2 separate regions of the Homo sapiens genome follow, and region 2 is linked to region 1. Evidence: promoter capture Hi-C in human tissues and cell types (Jung and others, 2019). All regions are on one chromosome and are shown on one strand. The core of a region is centred on a gene start or on the middle of the fragment in contact, and the rest is flanking DNA. Distances in the headings are between cores, read along the strand shown.

Region 1 (4,114 bases), core at 998-3,497:
CTAAATGATCTGTAGGATAGTCCAGGTGCAATTTGAAAAATTAGCATTGATGACTAAGGTAGAAGCAGGTACTGTGTTTCACATAAATATTTGACTTAAAATACAATTCATGGTGTTTCATGGAGTAGGGAAGGGTAGCCCCTGTGTCTGTCTGATAATAGAAGTACAATAAATTTAATTGAGAAGATTTGACAGAAATTCTAAGACTGAAATACTTCATTAATCAGGAAATGTGACCTTGAACAGAGGAAAAATACTGCAGCAGTCAAGACTGTTCTGGAAGCAGCAGTCCCTTTGAACAAAAAAATTTTCTTAGAGACAAGGTCATGCTTAGTCACCCAGGTTGGAGTGCAGTGGTCCAATCATGGTTCACTGTAATCTTGAACTCCTGGACTCAAGCACTCCTACTGCCACAGCCTTCTGAGCAGCTGAGACTACAGGTGTGTGCCACCATGCCTGGCTAAATATTTTATTTTTCATAGAGACAAGGTCTTACTATGTTACCCAGGCTCTTTTTTTTTTTTTTTGAGCGGAGTCTTGCTCTGTCGTCCTGGGTGGAGTGCAGTGGCACAATCTCGGCTCACTGCAAGCTCTGCCTCCCGGGTTCACACCATTCTCCTTCCTCAGCCTCCCTAGTAGCTGGGACTACAGGCGCCCGCCACCACGCCCAGCTAATTTTTGCATTTTTAGTAGAGATGGGGTTTCACCTTGTTAGCCAGGATGTTCTCCATCTCCTGACCTCGTGATCTGCCCGCCCCGGCCTTCCAAAGTGCTGGCATTACAAGCGTGAGCCACCGCGCCCAGCCACCCAGGCTCCTTTGACAATGATTTTAAGTGAACTTCAGGTCCAATTTGCAAAACCCCAAAAGCAGTGGGCTCTGTCAGTGGCTGCAGTACTGAAGGGCAAGAAGTAGAATATGTTCTTCTCTGCATTCATAGCTTTATGTGGATGATGACTGTCATCTTTGAATGTACAATGGGGATATATGGGGTTAAAAGTAGAAGTGATCTTAATGTTTGTCTTTACCATAATTATTACCTCCCTTGGGAATTTTATATCCTGTCTTGTTAACGCTTAAAAACAATCAGTGTTCTACATGAAATTATTTAGTGTTTTCCACTTCAGTTTAATTTATATTCAGAGCACTTAGATTATTTACACAAGTAAAAATTCCAGGGGGGTGGGGGAGAGTGTGTGTGTGTGTTTTAATAGCAAATGGAAGTGTATAAAGAAAAGGAACATGAGTCAATGAGGGTAACTAAGAACCTGATCTTGGATGGAGGATCAAGGAATGTCTCCCTGAGTAGGTGATACTTAAACTGATAAACAGGAGTGAAGTGGGCTACAAGTGCTGGTGGTGAGCCTTTTAGTTCAGAAAAAAACACTTGCAAGAGGTCTAGTGCCAGAAGGAGAGGTTGAGGCACTTTATTATATAAAGAGTAAAATACGTCCGGATAATGCATGTAGAACCAGCAAAAATTTGTGAAGTATTCTCTTGGGGAACTAGAGTAAGACCAAGAAATGTTGTGTTTGGGATACCAGCAAAGCAAGGGCCCCCAAAACATGACTAAAATCGAGTTTGATAATTAACTAGAATTTTGCAATAAGAGCATCTAAAAAGATGATATAAATTGAGTATGTTAAATTTTGTGTCATTTATAAGTTTTTATTTTGCATTACATAGGTGGGGAAGATAACGTTCATCTTACCTGAATTTTCAGTGCTTAGGACTTCTAAAGGGCTTCAGCCTTAGGGACAATTCTAGTCAAGCCCAGTTTCTTCCTTTTTACAATAATAAGCTGGATCCAAAAATTGTGATTTATCTTACGTGCCCCACGTGGCTAGTGACACGATCTAGGCCTAAAATTCAGAGCTCTTGAGCTAGCACTTCCTGCCCCTTTAAGAATGAAGGAACTTGTAGAAAAATAAATCCAAGGTTAGTAGGCAGGGGCTCCAGCTGAGTCCTGGCGGGAAGTTCTTTGAGAGCTAGAACGCCCCAAGACAAAATGTATTCGCTAAGTCGCAAACGCTCGACATGTTACCATGGTTACAGCTGTCTCCAAAGCCAATGGAATGAGTTGTACTATCGATACGGCCGGGACAACTCCGCCCCCGACCCGAAGGCCAATGGTGTGAGACATAATAACAGTCTCCACAAGAACCACAGTCTCTGGTTCCACTGGCGTGCGTCGTCTCTATGGTTCCCGCCGGAAGGACGCGTCTGCGTCTCTGCGGCGAGCGCGGTTGCTATGACGCCCAGGTCTCCGTAGGCACCTGCAGCTAGCAGCTGAGCGCGTAGGGGCCGAGCGACCCCGGGACGCTCGCGGCACCCTCCGCAGGAAAATTTCCGACTTGGTTCTTGAGGTTCCTGCCTCAGCCCCAAGGAGGAAAGCACCCATTCTCCCCTCTTTTCCGCATTACGGGCCTTTTCTGCTTCTCCCCAGTATGGTCCGAAACTACAGGAGGGGAACCCCTCCTGGCCCGGCCTTTCTATTCCCTGGCTGGAGTGATTCCGCCTGAAGGAGAATTCGCCCGTTTTCCCCGGACCCAGCTGCCACAAGCATTTAGTATTAGGCTGCCGCTTATTATTAGAGCGGGCTTAGAACATCCTCAGCGAGGTAGGTCGGCGTTCCTTTTCTCACTTAAAGGTGAGGTGTCGAGACGCGCCCCTGGACAGACAACGCCCGAAGGTCCAGGCCACTACGAAGTCCACGGAGGGGCAGCTTTCCCCTACGTGTAGGCCCGCGAACAAAGAACTACCGTTTTCTGATTTTTTTTGGCCGATGTTCGTCATGCAGAACCTTGAATCCCGATGAAGATTTGGAGGCCTTTTGTATCCTCAACATCAGAGGTCATGAAGTCAGTTACCTTCTGCCTTTCAAGCTACAACTTTTTCCACTTCTCTCATCACTCCAAGCACCAGCTTTCTCATCCTGCTTATTTCACAGCCATTTTAACTTTTCCCTGTTCACGCTGCACATTATTGAATGTCCATTTGTCTGCACCACCTCTGTCATCTATAGACCACCTCCTTCTGCTTTCCTGCTACAATGCTTTGCGTACCTAAGTATTTCGCATTCTCCAGCTCTGCAGTCATTGGGAAGATTTTCTGTTTTTCTTTGCACTATGGCAACCTTTCAGTCTTGGGTAAACTAGAGACTAGGAGAAGTGCAAATTGGTAAATATAAACATTAAATACTGTAGGTCTAGTGTGTTTTGAAAATGGAAAAAAAAATCAAAATTGCAGTATTGGACCCATTTCAGGCTTACATAATGAAAGAAGGTTGTTCCTTGTTTCATTAAATTTTATTGATGTGTTTATCAATGTGAAAAGGGCATTCAAAGTGATCATGTAAGACAGGATTTCAACTTTAAGCCCATATGAACCCAACACTGGGGATATGATGTAATTTTCTGGAGAGGAGATGATTGAAATAGTACTTGTGCCTTCTTTTCCTGTCAATTTCTGAATCAGAAAACATTCTTTGTGATGTAAGCCAATAAATGAAAACAATAAGGAGTGATTGAAAATAAATATTTTTGGCAAGGGAGCAGACACAATTGTTCTAAAAAGGCTGGAACAGAGGGCCTTAAATATGGCATAAGATTAATTTAGATCCAGTGCAATTTTATTTTAGCTTGGAAAGCTTGACTTAATTTGTCTTACAATACGCATTCCTTGTTGAATCTTACTATTTCTTCTTCAGTATTCAGGTTTAAAAGTAAACCTATTTTGAGGACATACAGAACATACACATTTTAAACAGCTATTTGGGGCTACAATGATTTGGATATTTTGATTTCTCAGTCCAATAGAAGCAGTCGTTTGTGATGTCTCATGCTTAGAGCCAGGTCAAGTTTTTAAATACTGAGAAATTCAGCTTTCTCCTCTAGAATAGATCGGAAAACAAAAACAAGTTCTGCAGCCTTTTCAATCTTGCACATTAAATTGGAACTGGATAAAACCTAACTCTTGAAAAAAGTGTTAGATGCTATATTGTAAGGGGCTTTCCTTTCCTTTCCTCTTCTAATATGTATTTATTGAATAGCAAGGCATAAATTTAAAAACAATTTAACCTGGGCAAACATGGCAAAAACCTGACTCTACAAAAA
Region 2 (3,708 bases), core at 357-2,856, 100 kb before region 1:
ATGTATATAAATGGGTTTGAACTTAAAATATTTAAAATAAGTACAGATCATATTTTATGATTCCCTACTTTAATGGAATGGTTCCATTTCTAGACTGATCACATTGGATAAATGGCCTTTGTGATAGTCATTCTAAGGTCTCTCAACACAGATTAAAGGCCCCTATGTTATTCATTGACCTCGGTGCTGATGGTTTTCTAGAGGACTGAGTGAACCAGAAGAGGTGGGGTACAAACATCCTAGGCAGAGGAAAAAAAGGGAGCAAATTCAGCAAAACATGGACATGGCATAGAGCATCAATTTCTTCTACTGGAGGGTATAGCAGGAGGGGAGTGGGAAAGTTGAGAAAACAAGTTATGGTAAAAGAAAAAAAAGAGGCAGTTGAATTTAGTCTCCATTTTCACATACTGGCTCTCTAAGCTTTGTTAAATAGTTTCAAGCTTTCTGGGATTGGCAGATATTCAAAGCTAACTATTTCTCTCTTAGGACACATTTACAGATTCTGCAGAAGACCCAGTAGGAAGATTCTGTTGTACCTTATATAATTCAGGTGATACCATCTCCCTTTCATTGGCTACTCTCATCTCAGCCTCTGTTTTTTGGTGGTCCAGTCTACACTGGGTCTTTCTGTTAGGAGTTCCATGGCTCTTCCAGGCAATCCTCCTAGGCAAGATTTTAAAGGGTTTAAGCCAGCTCTCCTTCCAAAGAAACCTTCCACCCTGACAAACTCTTGGAGTGCAGGCCACTTGATATAATCATTTATTTGACCTTCACCCCTGTAGTTGGAACAGCTAGCTAGTCCACCACTGCCTTTCACATGTCCTAGGCAAGAGTTAGATATTGGTCCACTGCATCCCATTACCTGCAGGAGTTACATATCAAGGTCTCCAAGTGGTCCCATTGAAATGGCTCCCCCTTGGCTTAAGAATAAGAAAGTATCACCCAACCCTGCTTATTGGGAGAGAGGGAGGAGAAATCCTCACAAGCTTATGTCTCTCCAGAAAAGTCCTCTTCAAAGAAGCCCTACAGCAACATCTCTTTACCTCCCTGAGGATGAGGGGCTTGAGAACTGTGCAACTGGTTTTTGATTATCTACTTTGAAACTCCCACAGAAGGGTATGCTGACAACTTTGCCATCTAATATCTATTGCCTTAGGGTTTCTGGTGGACACTTCCTATTTGAAATCTATTACACTTATATTTGTGGACTAAACAATACTTGGATGTGATGTATTATTCTTTTACTATCCTAATGGATTAAATTTACCAGTGTTTTATTTAAGATTTTGTAATCTATGTTTATAAATGAAATTGACCTATACATGTGCTTTTTTTGTACAGACCTTGTGTCATGTAGCAGGACAGAAATTTGCATACTATGACTCAGATGTGCGAAAGAATGTTAACATTTGTTACTTTCTGTAATGACTCCTATTTTAGACTCAAGCCTCAATTCCTACTAATAGCAGGGGGAAATTTTTAAATTGTGTTTATGTCTCTGTGAGTTTAAATAGAATTTAATTCATTCAAAATTCACACTCCCAGCTGAGTGCGGTGGCTCGTACCTGTGATCCCAGCACTTTGGGAGGCCAAGGTAGGTGGATCATTTGAGGTCAGGAGTTCGAGACCAGCCTGGCCAACATGGTGAAACCCTGTCTCTACTAAAAATACAAAATAAATTAACCAGGTGGTAGTGGCGCATACCTGTAATCCCAGCTACTCAGGAGGCTGAGGCAGGAAAATCACTTGAGCCCGGGAAGTAGAGGTTACAGTGAGCCGAGGTCACACCACTGCACTCCAGTCTGGGTGACAGAATGAGACCCTGTCTCAAAAAAAAAAAAAAAAATTCACACTCCCTGCTGGCTATTTTCTCCCCTCATAAAAGCAGGAGGAGAATACCACACTGTCCTGTGGCCTTCCCTGAGATGTCCCTCATCCCACTGTTGAAGCTGACAGAGGGAAACTTGGCTGTATCTTATCTTTTGTGGCATCATTTTGCTGCCTATTACTGAGATTCTTCATTCCTGCATTCTGTGCTCTGCTTATGCAACCTAAGGCTTCCTGCAGCCAAGTGGTTCCCCTCAGCACCATCTGTCCCCTGAGGAATCCAAGGAACTCTTGACTGCTTTCTCCTTGACATGATGTACTTGTGGGATCCTGGGAGGCTGCTCTCAGACTTCTCCCTCATCCGTTACTACCTGAGTCATACTGAACATGGTACCAACCCCAATACAGGGTTGTTCCAAGGAACCTGCATCATCTGAAACAAAATCTGGAAAGTGGGCATGAGCCATGTTTTGGAATTTCACCAGATCTGTATCCCCAAATCACTTATTTCTGGCCTCCCACTCCTTTGTCTCTCACACTCTCTGCTTTTCCCAATTATCAGAAGAACTTCCTGCTTTCCCTTCCTGTCTCTCAGGAATTCTTCTACCAAATACCCTTTTCCTTCCTACGTGGCATTAACCCTTGCCTACTTTGATTGAATAACAGTACAGGCAAGGGAGTGGCAGGGAAATAATCCAAATTATTAAGAGAAAATGCAGCCAGGCATGGTGGCTCACACCTGTAGTCCCAGCACTTTGGGAGGCCAAGGTGGGTGGATCTCTTGAGTCCAGGAGTTTGAGACCAGCCTGAGCAACATGACGAAACCCTGTCTCTACTAAAAATACAAAAAGTTAGCCAGGTGTGGTGGCACGCACCTGTAGTACCAGCTACTTGGGAGGCTGAGGTGGAAGAATCACCTGAGCCCAGGAAGTTGAGGCTGCAGTGAGGAATGATAGCACCACTGGGTGACAGGAGTGAGACCCTGACTCCAAAAAGAGAGAGAGAGAGAGAGAGAGAGAGAGAGAGAGAGAGAGAGAATATGCATTAGGGTATTTTCTACAAACACTTCAACTAGCTTACTTACATTTAAGCCCAAGATATTTATTGTTCTTATGCTTTTGCTGCTAAATCAAGGATAGACTCACACATAATATTTCTCTATTATACTGGTGGGTTAGCACACTGCCTATTTCCTCCAAGTGGTTTAATCAGCTTCTTGAAACCCATACTAATAACTATTACATGTAATTCATTTCCCTTTCCCTTGCAGATAAAAGTGGCCAACTAGATGTAAGCAGAAGTCACTGGGTAGGCTTCTTGGAACTCTGTCATTATTGCCCTTCTTCCGTTTGTCCTTTCTGTTGCTTGGAAGGCAGATGAGGTGGCTAGAGCTTCAAAAGCCATATTGGACCAAGAGTAACCTAGAACATGAAGGTGTGTGCCAAAGATGGCAGAGCACATGGAAAGGGGAGATCCTGGATGCTTAATGACCAAGGAGCAGCCACACCAACCCTGAACTGCCTAACTCTGCTCTTCTTTATTCTGAGGAAGAAATATGCCTCTTTTGTATTTAAGTTGCTTTAATTAGTATCTTCTACAAACAACCACATGTAATTTCTTACAAATTATTCAGTTAAGTGATGTATTCAGTCATACAACTAGGTCAGGCACTTGTAATCCCAGCACTTTGGAAGGATGAAGTGGAAGGACCACTTGAGGCCAGGAGTTGGAGACCAGCCCGAGCAACATAGGGAGACCCCATCTCTACAAAAAATTTAAAAATGAGCAGGGCATGGTGGTGCATGCCTGTAGTCCAAGCTACTGGGGAAGTTGAGGCAGAAGGATCACTTGAGCCCAAGAGGTCGAGACTGCAGTGATCTA

What was found. Contacts are between HindIII fragments. The study calls those that stand out against the background at their distance.
Region 2: a fragment that was not itself captured here is called in contact with the fragment with the promoter of CCDC30 in region 1 in 2 of the 25 tissues and cell types used here (H1 embryonic stem cells and adrenal gland).

What each region holds. Positions count from the first base shown.
Region 1 is chr1:42,461,039-42,465,152 of GRCh38, forward strand. CCDC30 (coiled-coil domain containing 30) reads left to right here and starts at 2,248. Exons shown (of 21, transcript NM_001395517.1): 1 at 2,248-2,860. PPCS (phosphopantothenoylcysteine synthetase) reads left to right here. Exons shown (of 3, transcript NM_024664.4): 3 at 1-198. RefSeq lists a silencer at 2,145-2,194. The HindIII fragment of the contact is 7,916 bases long and covers 1-4,114 here.
Region 2 is chr1:42,357,581-42,361,288 of GRCh38, forward strand. No RefSeq gene overlaps it. Among named protein-coding and RNA genes, the nearest start is that of RIMKLA, 21 kb to the right of the region's middle. The HindIII fragment of the contact is 7,040 bases long and covers 1-3,708 here.